Regions from separate parts of the Homo sapiens genome. Here regions 1, 2, 3, 4, 6 and 7 are each linked to region 5. The links are contacts of gene promoters, found by promoter capture Hi-C in blood cells and fetal thymus (Javierre and others, 2016). All regions are on one chromosome and are shown on one strand. The core of a region is centred on a gene start or on the middle of the fragment in contact, and the rest is flanking DNA. Distances in the headings are between cores, read along the strand shown.

Region 1 (3,616 bases), core at 690-3,189, 880 kb before region 5:
TTGGCATATTTTCAAATGGAGAACGGACATTTAAGTTTTTCAATGTGATAGGGAAAACATTTAAAATAAGTAATAATAGAGAATTATGGAGAAGGATAAAGCACCAGAGTATAATAAAGAAGAAATATGTTTGACAGTATGAGAAAGGCAACCACTTCTCTTAAAACTTGAACTTTCATCACTCTAAAAAACAATAGGATTGTAAAATGCAATGTCAAAAACTATATTTACCAATATTAAAGTATCAGACAGAAACATACCACAATGAATATGGGTTTCTGATAACCCCTACAATATTCTACTTAACTTCAAAACTCAGTATTGTTTAAAGACAATGAAAATGTGTATATAGTTCATGAAGAACATGAGATAACTGAGCCAGGCAATCAATACAAACACAATGACATGGGTAGTAGTAAGCAGCTGAACTCACTCAGAACATGGCAAACTACAAAATCAAATGATGATCTCTAGTAGCTAACTGCCAGCACAGGAGAATTTTGGAAATGAATTTAGAAAGTAATTTGGATGTTTACCTAGAATTTAAAGTTACATACTTGATTCCTTCTTTATAATAACTTCAGTCGATCAGATGCAAAAGAAAAAGTACTTAAAAATGTTTAATTCCAACATCCTTTATACTCCACAGTTTTAGTTTTATTCTCCCCTTAGCAAATGTTTTCAGGCAATCTTTAACACAATTCACTTACTTAATCTTTGGCTTCTCTTGTTTTTAAGCTAATATGTATAAAACTAGCAAATTTGGGGTAGTTGTTTGAAGCAGAAGACATGTGTGTAATCTTCAACTAAATAACAAGCACCCTGATAATTAAGAACTTGATTACTCCTTCAAGTTTGGAAAATGGTATCCAGAGTGTAAGTTCACTTGAGATACTTTTGTGCAGAAGGCCAGATGCAGACAAAGCTATACACCTGAAAGAGTTAAAAATATCTAAAAACATTTTATTTTCTTTATGTTGTGAATAGAAACTCTTGATATTTCTTTCTTCCAGATCAAAGCATCAAAAAAAAAAATATATATATATATATATATATATACACACACATACAGTATATTTACAAAAATTGCTATGTTTTTGAGTGGTCACTTAAAAATCTATTCATGCTATGAAAAATTTTAATTTAACATCTAATATAAAGGGTTTATTATATAGATGCTTATGACCAATATCCTTAAACTGGTAAATATCTGTCAATCAATAATAAAACAGAAAGCTCTTGTTTTTGAAAAAAATATTTATTACTTATTTGATGGTGACTCATTATTAGAAACAGCATATTAGAAGTTGCTGTATTTGCTGGAAAATGAGAATTTTCCCTTGTGTTTTGTATGTGTTTTTACAAAGCAAAGATTCACATAAACTTGCAAAGCGACTCTAATTGAAATGATAACTATTGTTCCATTAGGTTGAAAACAGAGGCATTAAATCTGTTTAGTGTGATGTTATTTTTTTCTTTCTTTGAGATACAGACACCACCAACACCTGGAATACTATCCATTAAGCTTCATTAGGGATATATAATACTTTATATGGCTTATTCAAAACTGTCAAAAAATAAATATTTTGTACAATATCTCTGGTTAATTTTTTTTTCTAATTGTAAGGCATTTTGTCTTGTAGCAACTATTGAGTAACCCATGCAAAAGTTGTTGCAAAAGCACAGTAGTGACAACCTACACAATGAGTAGGAATAAAAAGTCATGGTTTGTGTTTTAAAGGACTCCAACTTTTTAACTTTTTATTTCTGTTCAAGATGAGCAATCTGCTAGCTTTGATTAAAGGTTGGAGGGATCAAGGGTTGGTAATATTAATACAGGAGTCATTAAAAATTTATTTTAGGCCATTAGAAAGGGTAAAATAGTTCTCGGTGGATTTTTCCTTTAATAAAAAGCAGCCCCCAAGCCACTTATTTTCTAACAAAAAGCAGCCTGAAAAGTCAAGTTGCAAGTATAGATATGCAAGCTAGAGGCTCCCATATGTAAAGCTAGCAGCTGTACCTGGAAGCCAGGCACATTCAATATGGTGATTCCTGCTCCCTTTTCCTTGTCACCAGGTGTGTGGGTGACATGGCACTGGTGAAGTGAAGCCACGTGTGCAAATGTCATGGTGACAGCCAGGTAGAAGATGCATTTGCATAATAAAAGGTTAGGGTGGGAGGGCCAGTCTTTTCACCGGCTATGTAAGTAGTATACCTGGTTAAACCAATCCCCGGGCCCTATGTATATCAATCACCGCCTCCTCAAGCCTCTGTATGAAATCAATCAAATCTTGCCCCAAACCCAGAAAACCCTCTCTTGAGCAACTGTCTTTCTCAACATGAGGAAGCTTTCTCACTCTCTTCTTTATCTATTAAACTTTCCACTCCTAAACCCACTCCTCATGTGTGTCTGTGTCCTGAATTCTTTCTTGGCATCAGACAATGAACCATGGGTATTTCCCCAGAAAATGGAGCTTTTTCAATATTATTCACAGAGAAAGAATCCTCCACATGTCCACTTCTTTCTTTCACATTTGGTCCAGGAGATGAAAAAGAATAGGTTCTGCATGAAGTCAAAGAGATAGATCACAGCAAAACATGTGGGGGTAGCCATGTTTATACCTACACATCAATTGGTTACCACAGAGAGAGAGAGACCATGCTTCTTTTTTCTGTTTATACAACATCCAAAAGAGGCCAAAGGGGTTTAATTCAATCTCATCTCAATACTGTGGCATCAGTAATCTGAGACCAAGAAACTTTTAAATGCACCCACCTGAGATGACAGCCCTTTGTAAAGAAGAAAATTAATTATATAGCAGCATGGTATAGTGAGAGAAATTTTTTTTGAGCCAGATAAAATGGAAACTGGGTTTTATCTCTTACTTGTGGGATGACCTTGGGCAATTTACCAAATTCCTCATCTGTATGTGGGAGTTATCCTTCTTGTTCATATAACAGGGAGAATGAGAGTCATTTGATGAGTTGTACCCATCAGTGAGATGGGACACATATAGCACCTACACAAATAGTACCTACACACACTCAATGATAATTAGTTCCTTTCTTTTTTCCCATCACCCAATGTCATTTTTTTGTTTTAATCCAAGATTTTGGGGCTTTCTTCTGAGGTAAAAATTATTATTATTATTTTTTGAGATAGAGTCTTGCTCTGTTGTCTAGGCTGGAGTGCAGTGGCGCAATTTCAGCTCACTGCAACCTCCACCTCCCGGGTACAAGCAATTCTCCTGCTTCAGCCTCCCAGGTAGCTGGGATTACAGGCGCCCACCACCATGCCCAGCTAATTTTTGTATTTTTAGTAGAGACGGGGTTTCACCATGTTGCCCAGGCTGGTCTTGAACTCCTGACCTCATGATCCACCCACCTTGGCCTCCTAAAGTGCTAGGATTACAGGTGTGAGCCACTGCGCCTGGTTGGTAAATTTTTTTTCTTGTATTCTGAATATAGGAATTCAATCAGAGATGTTAAAACAAAGAAAGATGGTACTCTCTGGCATGTTTCAATCTTATTCTATTGCATGAGTGCCTGCTAGAAATAATTACAAGCCATTCATGAAATCAAGGTTGGTTGGGAATATTGGACTCCTATATACTGT
Region 2 (3,728 bases), core at 854-3,353, 790 kb before region 5:
ACCAGGGACTAATATCCAGAATATATAAGAAAGTCAACCAATGCAACAGCCAAAACAACAACAGCAGCAACAAATAATCCCACTAAAAATTGGGCAAAAGATATGAATAGACATTTCTCAAAAGAAGACAGAAATGGCCAACAGGTATGAAAAATTGCTCAACATCACTAAAGATTAGGGAGACACAAATGAAAATCATGATGAGATATTATCTTATCCCAGTTAGAATGGCTACTATTAAAAAGGCAAAAAAAAAAAAAAAAAAAAAAACGGATGCTGGTGATGATGTGGAGAAAAGGGAACCCTTATACAGTGTTGGTGGGAATGTAAATTAGTACAGCCATTATGGAAAACTGTATGGAGGTTTCTCAAAACACTTAAAAGTAGAGCCAGCACAAGATTGAGCAATAACACTGTTGAGTATTTATCCAAAGGAAAGGAAATCAGTATATTGAAGAGATACCTGTACCCCATGTTTATGGCAGCACTATTTACAATAGCCAAGATATGGAATCAAACTAAGTGTCCATCAGCAGATGAACAGATAAAGAAAATGTGGTAAATAAACACAGTGGAATACTACCTGACCATAAAAAGAATAAAATTATGTTATTTGCAGCAACATGGATGAAACTGGAGGTTATTATGTGAACTGAAATAAGCAAGGCACAGAAAAACAAATATCATGTGTTCTCACTCAAATGTGAGAGGTTAAAAAAATAGAACTCATGGAGATAGAGAGTAGAAAGAGGCTGGGAAGGGTGTGTGTTGGCGGTGGGGGGTGGGGGGCATTGGGGGAATGAATAAAAATTGTTTAATGGGCACAAACATACATACAAACATACAATTAATAGAAGAAATAATGTTTGATAGTACAGTAGATTTACTATAGTTAACAACAACATATTGTAGATTTCAAAATAGCTGGAAGAGAGAACTTGACATATTCCCAACACATGGCAATGATAAATATTTGAGGTGATGGATAGCCCAAATACCCTGACTTGATCATTCCATATTCTATGCATGTAACAAAATGTACAAATATTATGTATCAATAAAAAGCTAAATCTAAACATGCTTCTCTTAAAAATATAGAAATTGACAAAGCCAGAAGTCTAACAGGCAAATAAAATAGATTAACTTGAAAAGGCTAATAAAATGGGTAAATGTTTGGTAAAATGATCAAGAAAAAAAGAGGACAGATAACAAATATAATAAATGGAAAAAATGACATTATTATAGACCCTTCAGAAACAAAAAATATCGAAGGAGAATATCATGAATGACTTACAGTAATACATTTGAAAATTTTGGTGACATTGAGAAATTTCTAAAAAATCAAAACTTACCAAAACTGATGCAAGAATGGAAATAAGAAATAAGAGTGTTAATATAAAATTTTAATATGAAATAATAAGAGTATAAACCATCAATATCTTTTGCTATTAAAATATTGAATTCTGAATTCAAAAAGTAAACAAATTAACCCAAATAAAACCAAACTAAGCTGACCAATCAAACAATATCTCTTCTTTCCACAAGAACAAAGACATCAATTTAGAGCAATTCTACTAGAAAATAAAAAGAAAACATTCCTCAACTTGTTTCATGAGGCAAGCGTAACTTTGAAATGAAAACTTCTTAAGAATATTTTGAGTAAGAAAATTGACAAGCCAATCTTACTCAGGAACATAGATATAAAATCCCTAAACAAAGTATTAGTAAACCCGGAATGGCAATACACAAAAAGGATGATACATCATGATTAAGTTAGGCTTATTATAGGAATGCAAAATTGGTTTATCATCATAAAAATCCGTGGACTTCACAAATTAAAAAAGAAAAATCATATAGTCTTCTCAATATATACAGAAAAAGCTTAGACTAGAATTCAATTCCCATTCATGATCAAACATCTTAGCAAACTGTGAATAGAAGGGAGTTCTTAATTTAATAATGGGTATCTACAAAAACATCCAGAAATATAATACTTAATGGGGAATGCCAGAAACTTTCATCTGGATTTGAAGAATGGAACAATATGGCTGCAAATTTACTACATATTCTTCAATGCTGTCTTGAAGAGCCTAACTGATACAGTCAACCAAGACAAAGGAACTACAAGAATTGGGAAGGAAAAAATACAATTGTCATTGCATTTCAGAAGATATAACTGCATAACTAAGAAATCCTCAGGCATCTATAAATAAATTATTACAATTTAAGTGAATTTAGCAAGATTACTGAATAAAAGGCCAATTAAAAAGATAAAAATATATAAATTGCATATCTACTACACTGTAGAGTCTGAAATAAGCTTCAAATATGAGTGTTAGCTAACTCATCTAGCTAAATCCAAAATTTCAAACTCAGAGGTGACTCTTAATCTTATTTTTTTCTTTCAACTCCCTAGGTATCTGTATTCCTAGATATTTTATTCTTTTTGTGGCAGTTGTGAATGGGATTGCATTCCTGATTTGCCTCTCTGCTTAGATGTTGTTGGTGTATAGGAATGTTGCTAATTTTTGTACATTGATTTTGTATACTGGAACTTTGCTGAAGTTGTTTATCAGCTGAAGGAGCTTTTGGGCAGAGACTATGGGGTTTTCTAGGTATAGAATTATGTCATCTGCAAATAGTGATAGTTTGACTTCCTCTCTTCCTATTTGGATGCCTCTTTTTTCTCTTGTCTGATTGCTCTGGCTGGGACTTCCAGTATTACGTTGAATAGGAGTGGTGAGAGAGGGCATCTTTGTCTTGTTCTGGTTTTCAAGAGGAATGCTTTCAGCTTTTGCCCATTCAGTATGATATTGACTGTGGGTTTGTCGTAGATGGGCTTTATTATTTTGATGTATGTTCCTCCAATGCCCAGTTTATTGAGGGTTTTTAACATGAAGGGATATTGAATTTAATTGAAAGCCTTTTCTGCATCTATTGAAATAATCATGTGGTGTTTGTTTTAGTTCTATTTAGGTGATCACATTTATTGATTTGCATATGTTGAACCAATCTTGCATTCCTGTGATGAAGCCTACTTGATAATGGTGGATCAGCTTTTATATTTATATATATATATATATATATATATATATATATATATATATATATATATATATATTATACTTTAAGTTCTAGGGTACATGTGCACAACGTGCAGGTTTGTTACATATGTATACATGTGCCATGTTGGTGTGCTGCACTCATCAACTCGTCATTTACATTAGGTATATCTCCTAATGCTATCCCTCCCCCATCCTCCTACCCCACAACAGGCCCCAGTGTGTGATGTTCCCCTTCCTATGTCCAAGTGTTCTCATTGTTCAATTCCCACCTATGAGTGAGAACATGCAGTGTTTGTTTTTTTTGTTCTTGCGATAGTTTGCTGAGAATGATGGTTTCCAGCTTCATCCATGTCCCTACAAAGGACATGAACTCATCATTTTTTATGGCTGCATAGTATTCCATGGTGTATATGTGCCACATTTTCTTAATCCAGTCTATCATTGTTGGACATTTGGGTGGGTTCCAAATCTTTGCTATTGTGAATAGTGCCCCAATAAACATACGTGTGCATGTGTCTTTATAGCAGCATGATTTATAATCCTTTGGGTATATACCCAGTAATGGGATGGCTGGGTCAAATGGTATTTCTAGTTCTAGATCCCTGAGGAACCACCACACTGTCTTCCACAATGGTTGAAGTAGTTTATAGTCTGTGGGAGGAA
Region 3 (3,664 bases), core at 30-2,529, 820 kb before region 5:
ATCTTAGAAACACCGGTTCCAGCTCTCTGGCTTTGCATCTACAGTTACTTTATCTGGGTATTTGAAGATTTCTTGACTATGTGAGTATATCCTAAGTAACTAATATCTGTTTTATTTTATGATATTTACTCAACTACTCACTCCTAAGTAAAAAGAAAGATGTAAAAGGAAAATTAATTTAAATGTATATTTTACAGAGAATAATGATTATCCATGGATGCATCACTGAATTTCTTTTTCCCCAGTTTTACTGAGCTATAATTGACTAATAAAATGATACATATATTAAATATTTAAGGTGTACAACATGACTTTGGATAGCCTTATACATTGTGGTATGATTGCCTCAATGCAGCTGATCTCCATTATCTCACATAATTATCTTTTTTTGTGTGTGGTGAGAACATTTAAGATCTACTCTCTTAGCAAGTTTCAAGTATACAATATATTATTATCAACTATGGTCATCAGGCTGTACATTAGCTCTCCAGAACTTACTAATCCTGCGTAACTGAAACTTTGTATTCTTTGACCAATACCTTCCAACTTTCTCCATCCCCCAACCCGCAGTAACCACCATTCTACTCTCTACTTCTATGAGTTCAATTTTTTAGCTTCCGCATATGAATGAGATCATGCAGTATTTGTCTTTCTATGCCTGGCTTATTTCACTTAGTGTAACGTCCTCCAGGTTCATCCACAGTGTTGCAAATGATAGGATTTTCTTCTTTTTTGAGGCAAAATAACATTCTTGTGTGTGTGTGTGTGTGTGTGTGTGTGTGTGTGTGTGATATATATGTATGTATGTTGCACTTTCTTTATTCATTCATCTGTTGATGGACACTTAGGTGAATTCCATATCTAGGCTATTATGCGTAATGGTGCAACGAACATGAGACTGCAGCTATCTCTTCAAGGTGCTGATTTAATTTCCTCTGGATATATAGCCAGAAGTGTGATTGCTGGGTCATATGGTAATTCTATTTTTTAGTTTTTTTGAGGAAACTCCACACTGTTTTCGATAATGGTTGTACTAATTTACATTCCCACCATCAGTGTACAAGTGTTCCCCTTTCTCCATATCCTTACCAACACTTGTTATCTTATATCTTTTTCATCATAGCCATTCCAAAATGTATGAGGTGATATCTTATTGTGGTTTTGATTTGCACTTCCTTACTGATTAGTGATGTTAAGCATTTTAAAAATATGCCTGTTGGCCATTTGTATGTCTTCTTTTGAAAAAGGTCTACTCATTTTTTTTCCCTATTTTTAAATCCAGTTGCTTTCTTGATATTGAGTTGAGCTCTTTGTCAATCAGTAGGAGCGCAATAAACATGGTTATATATTTGAGATATTAACTCCTTATTGGATGTATGGTTTGCAAATATAGTCTGTCATCCATAGGTTGTCTTTTCACTCTGTTGATTGTTTTCTTGGCTGTGCAGAAACTTTTTAGTTTCCTGCAGTGTCATTTGTCTATTTTTGTTTTTGTTATCTGTGCTTTCGGAGTTCCAAATAATCACCACTCAGACCAATGTCAAGATTTTTCCCTGTGTTTACTTTCAGTAGTTTTACACTTTTAGGTCTTCTGTTTAGGTCTTTAATCAACATTGAGTTGATTTTAAACCACAAAGAAATTAAGCAAACAAGCCTATTTACAATAGCATAAAAGTACTTAGGAATAAATATTTTTTAACCAAGGAGATGAAAGCATTTTTAACTAAGAAGGTGAAATCTCTGTGTACTGAAAACTATAAAATATTGATGAAAGAAATGGAAGACATAAACAAATGGAAATATATACTGTGTTCACAGATTGAAATAATTAGTATTCTTAAAATGTTCATACAAACCAAAGTCATCTATAAATTCAATAAAATGTCTATCAAAATTCTGGCGTTTTTCACAGACATAGAAAAAAAATCCTAAAATTTGTATGGAACCATAAAAGATATCGAATAGTCAAAAAAATCTTGAGAAAGAAGAAGCTAGAGGCATCATAGTACCTGACTTCAAAAATATGCTACCAAGTTATAGCAATCAAAATAGTATACTACTGTCTTGAGACAAGCCTGGGCAACATTATGAGACCCCCATCTCTACAAAAAATAAAAAAATTAGCAGGGCATCGTGGTGCACCTCTATGGTCCTAGCTACTTGGGAGGCAGAGGTGGGAGGATAGCTTGAGCTCAAGAGGTCGAGGTTGCAGTGAACCGAGTTTGTACTGCTGTTCTCCAGGTTGGGTGACAGAGCAAGACTCTGTGTCAATAAAAAGTATATGATACTGCCATAAAATCAGCCACATAGACCAATGGCACAGAACAGAGAGCCCGGAAATAAATCCACAAGTTTACAATCAGTTGTTCTTTGACAAAACAGCCAAGAATGCATAAAGTGGAAAAGGTAGTTTATTCAATAAATGGTGTTGGAAAAATTGGATATCCACATGGATAATTAATTTCAACTCATTGCGACTTCAGACAATACAGGATGAAGATACTAATTAGAAAATTTAAATGGGAAAACCAAGTAAATACTAATTACTGTTTTTTTCGGATTTTAATGTGATTTTTTTCTTTCCAAATTCTCTCTTTCTCTTTTTTAGAGAAGAGACAAGTTGTAATCAACTGGATAATAACATCCTGTGAAACAAATCCATAAAAGGAAAGAAAAGTTTTAAAATCATATACTAAAAGGCAGGCATTATTGCAATATCAACAGGTAGAGTAAAAATACAAATGGAAATATTATTCCATTTTAACTAATTCTTCCAATGAAGATGAATAGTTACAACTTCTGGCAGTCATTAAACATTGGTGTATGTCTCTTTTTAAATAAAATTTGGAAGCTGACTAACAAATGACCTTATTTCCTAAGACCAAGAGAATCAGTATACCCTTTACACATTTGTTCTTGAAAAGGGTTGCCTGTATTAGTGATAAATCATAATTGGTTAAGCCTAAGTTTAAAAAAACAAGAACCCTATTATTGAAAGACAATTTATTGTGTTTAGACCTCAGTTTTCATTGATTTTTGAGTAGTGAGGCTAAGCCAACATTTGTGCTATACTACTTTACAGGTCCCTAGCCAATTTTTACTTAAAAAATATTTTAGTTTAATTAGGAAAAATTTAATAAATTTAAAAGCAAAACATTAATTGAGTATCTTCCTTGGACAAAGAACTGTGCTAGTCATTAAAATGGAGAAAGTGAGCAGGTTCCTGAAGGACATATTGTCAATGAGCCCAAAACTGGCAACTCATAATCTTAATTAACTGAGTTATTAGTATTGGTTAATTATAGCTTTGGGGATAAAAAGAGAAAATAGCTCAGGGTGGCTCTGTAAGAACTTCAGTAACTTAAACAGGAATGGTAGGGGGAAAATGATAGTTTGAGAGAAAAGAAAAGTTCAAATTTAAATATGTTGTATTTGAAATAAATGAAGATTTTGTAACTAGGTGCATATTTAAAAAATATTTATGGAGTACCGACCACATACTAGACTAGGCCCTGTGCTAAGCTTTGGGAAAATAAAGAAGCCAAAGCCCATAATTTAGTGTAGTTGTTTTCATTTATATGTGTGTCCATCAAACATTTCATGAGGAAGTGTTGTTAAAATATAGACTCTGACGTTCTCCCCTCAGAGATTTCAAGGTTGGTTG
Region 4 (3,536 bases), core at 237-2,736, 760 kb before region 5:
GGATTGTCTCTTTCCTTGTTGAATTTTAAGAGTTTGTATATTTTGAATAACAGCCCTTTGTCAGATGTGTCTTTTGTAAATAGTTTCTCTCGGTCTGTGACTTGGCTTCTCATTCTCTTGACATTGTCTTTCACAAAGCAGAAGTATTTAATTTTTATGAAATCTAGTTTATCCATTATTTCTTTCATAAATTGTGCCTTTGGTGGTGTGTCTAAAAAGTCATTGCCATAGCCAAAGTCATCTAGGTTTTCTCCTATGTTATCTTCTAGAGTTTGATAGTTTTGCATTTTACATTTAGGCCTATGATGATCCATATTTGAATTAATTTCACCAATGCCACACCGTCTTGATTACTGTAGCTTTATAGTAAATCTTGAAGTCAAGTGGTGTCAGTCTTCCAATTTTATTCTTTTCCTTTAATACTGAGTTGGCTATTCTGGGTCTTTTACCTCTGCATATAAAGTTTATAATCAGTTTGTCAGTATCCGTAAAATCACTTGCTAGGGATTTGATTGGAATTATGTTGAATCTATAGATCAAGTTGGGAAGAATTGACCACTTCACAATATTGAGTTTTCCTACCTATGAACATGGAATGCCTCCACATTTATTTCTTTCATTAGAGTTTTATCGTTTTCCTCATATAAATTTTATACTATTTTGTTAGATTTATACCTCAGTATTTTATTTTTTGAGTGCTTATATAAATGGTAATATGTTTTTAATTTCAAATTCCATTTTTTATTGCTGATATGTAGAAAAATAATTGACTTTTATATATTAAACTTGTATCCCACAGCTTTGCTTTAATTGCATATTAGTTCCAGAGACTTTTTTCAATCATTTCAGATGTTCAACATAGATCAAAAACAGTTTTTTTTTCTTAAAATCTCTATATCTCTTATTACTTTTTTATTCTATTGCATTAGCAAGAACCTCCAATATGATGTTGGAAAACTGCAATGAGGAGAGATAACTTTCCCTGTTTCCTGATTTTAGAAGAAAAGCTTTGAGTTTCTCGCTACTAAGTATGGTGTTATCTGTAGTTTTTTTTTATTTTTATAAATGTTCTTTATCAAGTTGAGAAAGTTCCCTTCTATTTCTAGTTTGCTGAGAGATTTTATCTTGAGTGGGTATTGGATTTTATTAAATGCTTTCTGTGCATCTATTGATATGGTCATGTGATTTTTCTTATTTAGCCTATTGATGTAATTGATTATATTACTTGATTTAAATGTTGAACCAGCCTTGTATAGCAAATTCCTACTTACTTGTGATGTGTAATTCTTTTTATACATTGTTAAATCCAATTGCTAATATTTTTTGAGGATTTTTGCACCTATATTCATGAGAGATATTTGTGTGCAGTTTTCTTTTCTTGGAATGTCTTTGTCTTGACTTGGTATTAGGTAATACTAGACTCATAGAATGAAGTAGGAAGTATTCCCCCCTGTTTCTGTCTTCTAGAGGAGATTGTAGAGAATGGATATATTTACTTCCTTAAATATTTAATAGAATTTACCAGTGAACTCATCTGGGCCTGGTGTTTTCTGTTTTGGAAGATTATTTATTATTGATTTAATTTCTTGAATAGAAATAGACCTATTCAGAGAGTCTAGTTTTTATTTTGTGTGTTATGGTAAATTGTGTATTTCAAGGAATTGGTCCATTTCATCTAGGTTATCAACTTTGTGTACATATAGTTGTCTGTAACATTCATTTATTATCCTTTTAATGTCCTTAAGATTTGTAGTGATGCGCCCTCTTTCATTCTGATATTAGTAATTTGAGAGTTTTTTCTTAGTTAGCCTAGCTAGAGGCTCATCAATTTTATTAACCTTTTCAGAGAAACTGCTTTAGGTTTTGTTGATTTTCTCAATTGATTTCCTAGTTTCAATTTTGATTTATTTTTATTTGTTTCTTTTGCTGAATTTTGATTTAATTTTCTATTCTCTTTAAAGCTTATGTGATTGATTTTAGATTTTTATTCTTTTATAATGTATGTATTCAATGCATAAATTTCCCTCTAAGCACTGATTTCTCTGCTTCCTACAAGTTTTGATAAATTGTATTTCTTTCCTTTCCTGCTCCCTACATTCTTTCCCTCCTTCCTTCCTCTGTTCTTCCTTTCTGTTTATAGACAGTCCCCCTCTGTCACCCAGGCTGAAGTGCAGTGGTATGATCATAGCTTACTGCATCCTCGATCTCCCAAGTTCAAGTGATACTCCTGTCTCAGCCTCCTTAGTAGCTGAGACTACAGGCACACACCATCATCCTTGGCTAGTTATTTCTTTTTTCTTTTTTTTTTGTGGAGATGGTGTCTTGCTATGTTGCCTAGTCTGGTCTCAAACTCCTGGCCTTAAGCAATCCTCCCATGTTGGCCTTCCAAAGCACTGGGATTATAGGCATGATCCACTGCGCTCAGCCAAGAAAATGTATTTTCATTTACATTTATTCCTAAATGTTTAAAATTTCCATTGGGGTTTCTTCTTTGATCCATGTGTTGTTTAGAAGCGTGTTGTTTAATCTCTGATTATTTTAGAATTTTCTAGTTATCTTTCTGATATTGATTTTTAGTTTAATTCCATTGTGGTTTGAGAGCAGACATAATATGACTTATATTCTTTTAAATGTGCTTAGGTGTGTTTTTTTTCTTTATCTTTAATTTTCCAAGGTTTGAATATAATATGCATAGGTGTCATTTTGTTTTATTTTTGTTTTTGTTTTTGCATTTGTCTTTCTTAGTGTTCTGTGAGTTTCCCAGATCTATGATTTGATGTGTGCCATTACTTTGGTGGGAATTCTCAGTCATTATTACTTCAAATATTGCTTCTGTTTCTTTCTCTCTTTCTTCTCCTTCTTGTATTCCCATTATGCATATGTTACACCTTTCATAGTTGTCCCACAGTTTGTGGATATTGTGTTCATTTTTTTCGTTCAGTCTTTTTTTCTTTGCTTTTCAGTTTTAAAAGTTTCTATTGCCATATCCTTAAGCTCAGAGATTCTTTCCTCAGCTGTGCGCAGTCTATTAATGAGCCTATCAAAAGCATTCTTTATTTCTATTACAATTTTTTTATCTCTAGCACTTCTTTTTAATTATTTCTTAGAATTCTCATATCTCTGTTTACATTATCTGTTTTTGCATGTTGTCTACTTTTTGCCTTAAAACCTGTAGCATATTAATCATATATATGTATATTTTTAAATTCCTAGTTTGCTAATTTCAACATTCCTGCTATATCTGACTGATTCTGATGCTTATTCAGTCTCTTCAAATTGTGTTTTTAACCTTTTAGTATTTCTTGTTAAATTTTCTTTTAAGGTGGATTTGACGTACTAAATAATACAAATTGATAAATAGGTTTTTAGTAACGTACTGTAAAGTGTAGGCAGAGAGAAGCATTCTGTAGTCCTATAGTTAGGTCTCTGACGTCTGGTAAGCCTATGCCCCTGAACTGTAAACTTCACCAGTGCTTCTTAGACCGTCCTCTTGCATCCAGCCCCACCCCTCCCACCCCGGCCCCTTTGGTGTAACA
Region 5 (3,400 bases), core at 597-3,096:
TGGCTCCCCGCTCCACAACTACCCTCAGCTGGAGTTTGTTCCACAGTTCAGTCGCTCATTGAGAAAACATTTATTGAGGGTGTATTACAAGCTAGTCACCCCTCTAGGCATTGGAGGTCACTCATTGAGAAAACATTTATTGAGGGTGTATTACAAGCTAGTCACCACTCCAGGCATTAGAGTTTTGAAAGTATGCAAGACAGAACAAGCCCTGCTACTCTCATAGAACTTACACGCTAGAGATGAAAGAAAACAACCAAACAGGATAAGTTCAGAGTTATAATAGTTTGCCAACATGAGTTATGCACAATAATCATCAAATCTTTTAAAATATCTACAATGAGATTAAATAGTTACAAAAAAAACTAAAGGGGGTGGTAACACTCACTAACAATTGGTAACACTGTGGCCCTTTTGTCAATTCCTGAACCAAGCCATTGCATCTTTGAATGAATCACAAGGGAGAAAGAAGGAAGCAGAGCTCTAATGCTGTTTAGAATTTCTTTATAAAATAAAGTGACTCTATAAGCTATGAGAATGGACAGTTGCAATGAATCCATTGTTGGTTCTCAAACCCAAAACCCCATATTTACCCATTTATTCATTAAAATATTGCTGTATTATTTCACGAGTTGATTTGTAAAAGTCAAGGGAGTGTTGTAATTTGACATAACGCCCCTGTGAGAAACAGAGGGGGGTTTCAACATCCACATCACAAGGTTCCCCAGACTGCACACGGTCTCCATTGGGCAATGGCATCCAGATGTCATGTGGTAGCCAGCAAGAACTGTAGGACTGGGACTAGAGTGGTCAGTAGCTACGAAGAAGTGCCTGGGCCCAGTGTGACAGCTGCCAGCACCGTCCACACGCCAAAAAGAAACTTCACATCTCTTTAAACTTGGAACACATGCAAAATACTAACAGTTTTGTTTTAGCAATAAAGACTCCCTGTCACTTACTAACTTCCTTCCCTCACCTATTTATACAAGTATAAGTTGACTAGCTGCTATTTCTATAGCTGCCTCCTATGATATTTATAATGTGTTGTGTGTGATTTGGGTTGCCCATGTCACTAACACTTTGCAAGAATTTGTGTTTGTAAATTACTCTGGAACTCTTCTGGGAGTGAATATTCCACTGCACAAGGTGGAAGCCAGACTAGAGACCATCTGCTAAGAGCAGCACTTCATTCACCCAGCTACACCTTCCTGCCAAAGCACTCTTTGCAAATCTATTTTTGCTGGTAGAAGTTACTACATAGGGAGTGGAGGCTGTTTTAAGTTATCAGTGTGCACCTTCCATTTCCTCCTAGGACGGTCACACGCCAGCAGCTGAGTTTCTCAAAGAAGCCTCAGCCCTCCTCCAGACTCGTTCTCACTCTTGCTTCGGAAGGGAGCAACAATCCTTATCAGACTAGCCGCATCTACAAGCTAAAAGTTTGCATGAACTTTCAATGGGGTACCAACCCTCGCCCCAAAAGTCCTGCCACTTTACTATTTTACAAATGCCGCCTCCAAAACATAAACAACGAAACCCTAGAGAAGAGCGAATCCATCTTCTGCTGGTGGGAAGAAATTCTAAATCTTTCCCGTTTCCCGCCACCACCTACCGCCAAGACTGGAGTCCCAGAACACTCGCCCGGGTCAGAAAGGGACCACTCCCCCCCTAGAATACTAGAGGCGGGGGAAGGGGTCTCCCAGGAAGCACACACCTGAGATAGATCCTCACGCGCGAGGGGCCAGCGGGCAGGAGCACCCAGTTCCTCCAGCCAGGGTGGAGTCGGCCTCCCCCCAGAATCAGAGCCTCGGCCCGGGTGCTCCCAGCGAGGCGCGCGGGGCTGTCACTCGAGGCGGGCTGGGCGGGTGTAACTCGAGCGCCGGGCGGGCCGCGCCCCCGCCTTCCCTCTTCCCGACTTCCTCCTCCCGCTCCCGCGCCTGCTCCCTCCCGGAGGCCTGACCAGGGCGGCGAGGCCGCCACCTCCTGCCCGGATACCTCGGGCCCAGGCTCCTCCGGCCCAGCGGGGAAACGCGGAAGTGGGGGCGGGAACCGGGGCCGGGGTTGGCGGGGGTGTGGGAGGGAAAAGCCAACAGCGGGCGGCGAGCGAGGTGGTCTCCGTGGCCCAATGAACGTGACTAGACGGGGACGCGGGTCCTGCCGCCGGGTGGGGTCGCGCAGCGCCACACGCAAGGGCCCTCGCCCCTGGCTGCAGTTCCTGCTTTGTGCCTCGGCGATGCCGGACTCCAGACCTCCGCCCCGCCTTGCCAGCGGGCTGGCGGACTGGAAAGCCTGAGCTAGGCCAGGCTGGGGAAGACGGTGGCGGTGTCCGATTTCCTGTGCCCTCGCCCATGCGGGCCGCCCTGGCCATCTGCCTGCGGGAGAGGAGACACTCGTCCGCCGGCACGCTGGCGGGGCTGGCTTACCTGACGACTTCTCGTTGTCCGCCCTGGGATCTGGCTTCTCCTACTCTGTACCTCCCGGCCGGCAGGCTTCCCTAGGCCTACAGACGTGTCCAGGAGGCGGGCGACCCTGCGACCCCGCCGTCAGAGCCCAGAACCCTCGCCCGGCTCCCCCGGCGGGCTCTGGAGGCGCGCCAGGCCTCCTGGCTCCCCGCCTGAATGTCAGCGCAGGGACCCGCAGGGAAGACCAAGCCCAAGCTCCAGGGGGTGGAATGCTGAGCACAGGTTCCCCAGACCCAGCCTCATACAGGTGGGGGGAGGCGGAGAGCCCCGGCAGCTGAACAGCAGGCTTCCCACTTGCAACCCCCCGCCACCCAAAAAAAAAAAACGACCCTGCCCACTGAGCATGCCCAGCTTACTTGTTGGAACTCCTAGGGCTAGACAAGCCCAAGGGGACCTAAGGAAGGCAAAGTTGGGGCTCAAATGGACCCCACTTCTTTAACAGCTTTGCTCCGAAGACCTCTGGGTGCTGTACTAATAACCTTTCTATCGTGGTATTGGAAAATATCCAGGAGATGGACGGAAATGCCTTTCCAAAAGAAGGAAGAAAATTAGTGTGAACCAAAAAGCAGTGGTATTTTTTTAAATAAAGTATTAAGTCACTCATTTAATGTCCTTAAATACCGCAGAATTCCTGTAGTTGACCCAGAGGAATGCATATATTTATTAAATCCCAAACTCAGTAACTTCAGGGAACCATCCATAGTCCACAGAGGAGCAATGATTCTCACCCTTGGACACATTAAAATTGGGGGGAGGGGGCAGGGAGGGGTGGAATGCCAGATTTCCATCCCCAAGTCCAATGAGTCAGTCTGGACGTGGGATCTGCAAGTCCTTGTATTTTAAAACTGGCTCTAAAAGTGTAGTCACTGGAGCCCGCAGCATCAGCATCACCTGAGAACTTGACAGAAACTGTACTCCAGTGACCTGATTCATAGACTCTG
Region 6 (3,265 bases), core at 694-3,193, 830 kb before region 5:
TATATACAGGTCAGATTTCCCATCTGAATTGCAGACTTAACTTATATCCAAACAATTTCTGAACATCTTCTCTGCATGTCTCACAGGCATCTCACTCATAATGTGTCTGAAACAGAAACCTTGACTTCACCCCACTCAACCCAACCAGCTCCTCTGCATTTCCCTCATAATGGCATCGCCACCCACCTTGCTGCAGAAATATGGATTCTCATCTAGACTTCACCCTCTTCCTGACCATAAATACAATCAATCCATCAACTTCTATTCTGTGTGTTGCCAACAGATATCTCAGCTATAACATCTTTATACCTCCACAGTTGCCTCCCCTAGCTCTTGAGCATCCACTCTCTTTCTCCAGGATTATTGCTGGAGTCTCCTAAAGGGACACTACTTCCACAGTTTGTCAGATCAACACCACTCTTCTGTTTAAAATCCTCAGTCAATTTCTATGGGACAAAGTGAAAAGGAAAAAAATCCAAATTCTTTAGTGTATAGGACCCCTGCTCAACTTTCCAACTGCCTGTCATTCCACTCTCCCCTCACACACTCCACCTTGGCCTTCTTTCAGTTCCCTGAAGAACACTCCAGCTTTTGTTATTTGCTTAACTTCTAGCATTTTTGCTACCCTTCCCATGTCTTCGCAGCTGGCTGCTTCTATTCCTTTAGTTCCTATCTTAAATATTCCCTTCATAGAGATGCCGTCTCTGACAACGCTTTCACATTTTTTTTTTTTTTGAGACAGAGTCTGGGCTGGAGTGGAGTGGCGTGATCACTGCTCACTGCAGGCTCCGCCTCCCGGGTTCACGCCATTCTCCTACTTCAGCCTCCTGAGTAGCTGGGACTACAGGCACCTGCCACCACGCCTGGCTAATTTTTGTGTATTTTTAGTAGAGACGGGGTTTCACCATATTAGCCAGGATGGTCTCGATCTCCTGACCTTGTGATCCACCCGCCTCAGCCTCCCAAAGTGCTGGGTTTACAGGCGTGAGCCACTGCACCTGGCCTACCCTCTCAAAATTAACTATTCTTTTATTATTCTCTATTATTGTGTTTCTGTCACAGCATTCATCTATCAATCTTATTTCCTTATCTTCTGCATCCAAAATTTTCTGAGGGTAGGACAAATCTGCCTTGCTTACTACAGTACCACAAGCTTCCAGCACAGTTACACAATAAATATTTGATAAATATGTATTGAATGCATGAATGAATGGATGGAGATGAGATGGAACTTAAAGCTTAAATAGTGGAAGAAATATTTCCCTTTGAGATAGAAAGTACAAAAAGGTGGTAACGTATACAAATATATTTATGCACATGGGATGAGAAGTTGAAAATATTCATAGCTCATACTGGAGGAAGGGTTATCTGTTAATGTAATAGGCTAGGGGCTTGAGGAGAATGGAGAATATTTTGGACAGATACTATGGGCAATGGGAGAGAATGCTGGCCAGCTAGCTAGGATTTCAGAGGGGCAGTGAGCACTTTCCTGAAACTGGAGATGCCAAAATTTTATGAAATTTCAATATATGATTTGCTCCACCAGTGCCTGCCAGCCTGCGTGTAAGAAGAGATAAAGCAAATTGCTGGATTAATATGAGTCTAAGGGATATCAGAGCACATGAGGTAGAAAGAGAATGGGTAGTGAGGTTTGAGGGGACTGGTGTAAGGTGGTTGAATGTTCCGGCATGGGCTCTGGGTCAGGGAAAGAGGAAGTAAAGCTAAGGGGAGTTTAATAGCCTGAGTGAAAGGGAGGGTACAGAAGAAAACAGCTACAGCCTATGACTTCCTCATCTCTAACTTTATAATATAAATTAATGAGAAATTCACATTTCACAGTTACATTTTTTTTAATGGTATTTGGTGCTGAAAAAAAAATCAAATCAGTTCTGAAAAGAAAGGATCAATTACACAAATTCGGCATAAACCAACAAGCCCGGCTGTGAAGTCCTGAGAGTTGCTTTATGGTTAAAATTTGGTTGGTCTGAGAAACATCCAGTGACAAAAGGAATTGTATCAGGAGGAGTTAACTAAGCAGGCTCATGCAAATGACTCTTCCTATATTTTAAATTAGTAGAGTTTTTGTCCTTTTTAGAAGGAAGTTCTAAAAAGTGCTAGACAGTCTAAAATTGGAGGTAAGAAAAATTCTCAGAAATTTGAGAGATTTGGGGAAGACACCTCTAATCACCAAATATCTAATCCTCTATTCCCCCGATTATGTCATGGTGCCTTAATTTCACTATTAGTACCCTACATGGGCAGATCATGAGAGATTCCACTAGATGCTAATATCCCAGCAAATAAGTAGTACCTCTGCCAATTGTTGACAAATATATATCTTAGATGTGTTTAAAGAATTACAATGAAGAAATTCTGTGGAAGATTATATGGTACAGATCATATTAGTGCCTGGTAAAAGCAATATTACAGGATGGGAAAGAGGGACCCAAAAGAGATGCCTGAGATTTCCAATACAAAGTTTCAGGGTGTGCCTTGATTTGGGGTGACTGACATGTCAAGGCACTCTGACATTTACAGAGACCTGTTCTCCTGCATTACTAAACAGATTAAACATGTTTCCGGGTATCTAGCAAAACTAGTGTGCTTGTTTTGTTCAAAGGAACAGTGGGAAACCCCCGCAAAGCTTTCAGCATTTTAAACTCTTACTCTAGTCTTTCATACTGGAAGAAAGGTTACTTGCTAATGTAATAGGGTAGGGGCTTGAGGAGAATGGAGAATATTCTGGGCAGACACTATGTCATCTAGTTGGCATAGGTTGTAAAAACCATTTCAAGTTATCCTACACCAACCTAATTCAAGCAAGTTTCCTTTATTTCAGTTTTTCCTTAATTTCTGCCTATATCATGGGAGGAGAAATTGCTGCTAAAGTCTAATTTGAATGCCAGATATTTCTAGGTTTGTAACTTTTTTGAGGCTAAGAAATCACATTTATATTCTATATGCCTATTTATTATACAAATTAGGTATTTAGAGTCTACTGGTCCCATGCTATACTTAAAAAATTAATCCAATCTCTTTGTCTTGGGGGGGAATCTAGGCTTAGATTACTGCAGCCAATCCAAGTTCTAAAAACAAATGGGGCCTCTAATGTGGGGAGTTTCACTATCCTGCACTTAGCTGACATACTACTGTGGTGGACAGAAAGACTCTGGACTTGAGAAAGATGACAAGAGACTAAGTTTTTAGTTCATTCTAGCATTTATTGGCCCTATGGCCATGGGCAAGTCAGTTAGGCCCCTAGAAC
Region 7 (3,303 bases), core at 608-3,107, 980 kb before region 5:
TGTAGAGATAAGGTCTCACTATGTTGCCCAGGCTTGTTTCAAACTCCTGGTCTCAAGCAATCCTCCCACTTCAACCTCCTAAAGTGCTGAGATTACAGGCGTAAGCCACTGCCCTCAGCCCTCAAAGCAGTATTAAAGCTAGTCTAGACTATATTATGGTACAGAAAGAACAAGAAGTTGATTGAGTCAAGCATTTGATTGATTTATTGCTCGATTTTATATTGGCAACCATAAGGGTTGCTGTTAATTGTTACTAGTATCAAAGTTTGGAAAATTCTGCCCAGTTATTGTTCAATCTTTGAAGACTGAGGAACAAGCCATGTTCCTCTTAAGCATTTAATGACGTTCTTGCAATTTTATTATTTTCTTTCCTTTAATCCTTCTCCAAATATACATTTTTTGCCTCTTCCTTTTTAGCCTTCATCTACTCCTTGCAGATTGCTTTGTGGCAAGGATTGCTTGTTTCAACTAGGCTGTCTTTCCTTTGGCCTAAGAGTCCACAGGCAAACCTGAGCTGTGCCCACTTGCTAGGCTTGCTATAGGGACCTGAATTTGCAAAGGAAGGGGAACAGTAGAGAATAAATAATGGGAGACAGTGAGCCTATGGCTATGTCTTTTCAGATGCCTTCTGCCTGGTTTGTTTTAGATTGCCATTGCCTCAGTCCCCTCTGTGGGATAGGCCAAGACTTGTGTGCTGTCTTGACCCATGTGGCAGCTACTTAATTCCCACTGTGGGTCTCAGCTCTCGTGTGCTGGGGCAGCCAAGAAGGGAGGCAGTTAAGAAGTTAGGGTGCTTAGCAGTGTTCTAAGTTTAGCCCGCTAAGGAAGCATTTCAGATAGTTCTGTTCTCCTTTTTTGTGTGGAAAATAAATAGCTGTCCAAGCCAGGCACGGTGCCTCACGCCTGTAATCCCTTTGGGAAGCTGAGGTAGGCAGATCACGAGGTCAGGAGTTCGAGATCAGCCTGGCCAGCGTGGTGAAACCCCGTCGCTACTAAAAAGACAGAAATTTGGCCGGGCATGGTGGGGCGTGCCTGTAATCCCAGCTACTTGGGAGGCTGAGGCAGAAGAATTGCTTGAACCCGGGAGGTGGAGGTCTTTGGGCTTGTATGTTGATGGTGATATTTGTAGAGCATTAACTAAGTTCTAGTCACTGTTCTAAAAATTTTACATCTATGCACTCATCTAATCCTCATAACATTTCTGGGGTTTAGGCTCTATTATTGTCTTCATCCTACAGATGTGGGAATCCTAGAGTATAAATCCTTGCCTAAACAGCAAGTACGTTTTCACAAACCCAAATAATCTTATTAAAATAATTGTTTAAATAAAAGTATATTTTATTGTTTTTCTTGTTTTTTAAAAGAAAGCTTGTTGGTACTACTAGATTATTTTTTGAGGGCATAGTATTCTCAATATCCTCCTTTTATACAGCAAAAATATTTTAAATGGATGAGATGGAATGGTAGTACTAGAAAGAAAGGTAAAAAATTTAATGACAAATCTCAACACCTAGAATTAAATTGCTAGCTTCACTGGGGTTTCCTAATAATAAAAACTTTTTTTTTTTTTTTTTAATCTCACAGCAAACTTTGAAACAAAAATGGGTGGAGTACAGATCTCTGCAGTTACAGGAACATCGTCTGCTTCATGGTAAATGCAATTTCCTGTTCAGAAACCACACTAACATTACTTCTTTCAGTATTTCTGCCTCAAAGTTGGTTTAAGATTATCATCATTATAAGAAAAATTTGTCTAGTGCTGGTCAAGGAAATGGGTCTGTGTTTCTTTGGCATGAGCTTTGGAATGGCTGTATTTGGAGGAGGGGTAAGGCAAGTCAGATCCACTACTGCGTATCATGACGCAGATGCACATGCACACAGATGCACATGCTCGAAAACAGGCACCTGGAGATTTTAGAAAATCATTGGGGAAGATTGCCTAACTTTCCTTCTACTTCAGTGAATGAATTACATTTCTGAAAACAATCACGGCTAAGGGGCTGTATAGTTTTTAGAAGCTATTAAAGCTGGAATGGTTGCACACTTATTGGGTAGAGCTCCTGTCTTTTGTTTAAATTGCATAAGTTGCATTTATGCAGAGAAATTCTTTTTCATGGCCCCCAAGACAAAGACATAAATGCGTAAGATGAATACAACAGTAAATGCATAGCTCTTGCCATTGAGTGCATTTTTAAGGGAAGGGTTGAGTTTAAAATGTGTTAATTCGCTATTTGTTGTATGATAGATGTAACCAAAGGAATGAACTTTTGTGTACAAATAATTCACTGAAACCACTACGTGGGTGTGAAATATAGCTTATCTCTTCTTTAAATAGCACCAAGCTTAAGTCTGTAACCTAGAATATCTGTTAAAAGTGATAATCAATTTGTTTACCAAAAAAGATAACAATTTAATCCTTAACTAGTCACTAATTTATGGCTTAGAGTTCTGGTATGAACTTCTGTTTTTTTTTTTTTAAATTGAAGTGTTTGAAACTTATGTACAAGTTACTTCTCTTTTTTATGTCTTCATTTAATATTTTTAAAAAATTCATAATAGTTCTTTTGGGTAGTGAAGTTTGTTAGAGAGGCAGAAATATTTAATACAAAAACTTCTTTATGGCCTTGTAAATTCAGCCACCTCCTTGCTTTCTTTAGACATGAGGGCTTTTTAGCCTCATTTCCACTTCTGGAGCATCCTGAATGGCCCAGTGAATATAAATTCTTGCTGTTCTATAGAAACAGCCTTGTATAGACAACATTGTTAGGTCAGGATCCTCATAAAGTCATTGTTGTACATATTTTTTGAGCAATTGAAGGAGTTCTGCTTTTTCTAGATGTATAGTAAACATCCAGGGCATGTGATTCTATAAGGCAATTGCTCTCCAATCAAAAGAAATTCATCACTTATTGCAAGATGAAATGAAGTAGGTTGTATTAGCAAAAAGGAAAGCATTATGACTAGTCACCATGGGGCTGGCTGTACTCAACCTTGCAAATCATCTGAAAGAACAGTTTCTTTTTATATTGTCAACCGAGGACAAAAGACAGCAGCAGTGGAGATAATCAGTACAAAATAAAACCATTTTAGAGTGTACAGTATTCTATTATTTTTTCTGAAGCATAGTCACTTACTGATTACGTTTTTCCAAGGCTGGTATTACAAGTTCTCTCTCTCTCTCTCTCTCTCTCTCACACACACACACACACAAGATACCAACCAACTCAGTTAGTGTGGAAGCAGGGAGGGTCATATTGGTATGTGATTAACATTAGAGTTTGAAGAGCCAGATGTACGTTGTTA

The links. The method cuts DNA at HindIII sites, captures the fragments that hold promoters and counts their contacts. A CHiCAGO score of 5 or more calls a contact.
Region 1: a fragment that was not itself captured here is called in contact with the fragment with the promoter of GPD2 in region 5 in 1 of 17 cell types (neutrophils); the score reaches 5.9 in neutrophils.
Region 2: a fragment that was not itself captured here is called in contact with the fragment with the promoter of GPD2 in region 5 in 1 of 17 cell types (erythroblasts); the score reaches 7.2 in erythroblasts.
Region 3: a fragment that was not itself captured here is called in contact with the fragment with the promoter of GPD2 in region 5 in 1 of 17 cell types (erythroblasts); the score reaches 8.3 in erythroblasts.
Region 4: a fragment that was not itself captured here is called in contact with the fragment with the promoter of GPD2 in region 5 in 2 of 17 cell types (endothelial precursors and erythroblasts); the score reaches 7.4 in endothelial precursors.
Region 6: a contact is called between a fragment that was not itself captured here and the fragment with the promoter of GPD2 in region 5, in 1 of 17 cell types (erythroblasts). The highest score is 6.4, in erythroblasts.
Region 7: a fragment that was not itself captured here is called in contact with the fragment with the promoter of GPD2 in region 5 in 3 of 17 cell types (M0 macrophages, M2 macrophages and M1 macrophages); the score reaches 9.2 in M0 macrophages.

The regions. Positions count from the first base shown.
Region 1 is chr2:157,314,618-157,318,233 of GRCh38, reverse strand. GALNT5 (polypeptide N-acetylgalactosaminyltransferase 5) reads right to left here. Exons shown (of 10, transcript NM_014568.3): 10 at 1-3,616. Among named protein-coding and RNA genes, the nearest start is that of ERMN, 9.4 kb to the left of the region's middle. The HindIII fragment of the contact is 823 bases long and covers 1,528-2,350 here.
Region 2 is chr2:157,224,392-157,228,119 of GRCh38, reverse strand. No RefSeq gene overlaps it. Among named protein-coding and RNA genes, the nearest start is that of GALNT5, 31 kb to the left of the region's middle. The HindIII fragment of the contact is 439 bases long and covers 1,884-2,322 here.
Region 3 is chr2:157,249,618-157,253,281 of GRCh38, reverse strand. No RefSeq gene overlaps it. Among named protein-coding and RNA genes, the nearest start is that of GALNT5, 6.3 kb to the left of the region's middle. The HindIII fragment of the contact is 4,490 bases long and covers 1-3,524 here.
Region 4 is chr2:157,197,157-157,200,692 of GRCh38, reverse strand. No RefSeq gene overlaps it. Among named protein-coding and RNA genes, the nearest start is that of GALNT5, 59 kb to the left of the region's middle. The HindIII fragment of the contact is 954 bases long and covers 1,010-1,963 here.
Region 5 is chr2:156,434,825-156,438,224 of GRCh38, reverse strand. It overlaps GPD2 (glycerol-3-phosphate dehydrogenase 2), which reads right to left and starts at 1,846. Exons shown (of 17, transcript NM_000408.5): 1 at 1,712-1,846. RefSeq lists silencers at 1,725-2,134, 2,575-2,744 and an enhancer at 2,285-2,334. The HindIII fragment of the contact is 5,965 bases long and covers 1-3,400 here.
Region 6 is chr2:157,268,573-157,271,837 of GRCh38, reverse strand. All of the region lies in intron 1 of GALNT5 (polypeptide N-acetylgalactosaminyltransferase 5), which reads right to left. Among named protein-coding and RNA genes, the nearest start is that of GALNT5, 12 kb to the right of the region's middle. The HindIII fragment of the contact is 1,406 bases long and covers 1,241-2,646 here.
Region 7 is chr2:157,416,871-157,420,173 of GRCh38, reverse strand. It overlaps CYTIP (cytohesin 1 interacting protein), which reads left to right. Exons shown (of 8, transcript NM_004288.5): 7 at 1,585-1,651. Among named protein-coding and RNA genes, the nearest start is that of CYTIP, 26 kb to the left of the region's middle. The HindIII fragment of the contact is 974 bases long and covers 1,371-2,344 here.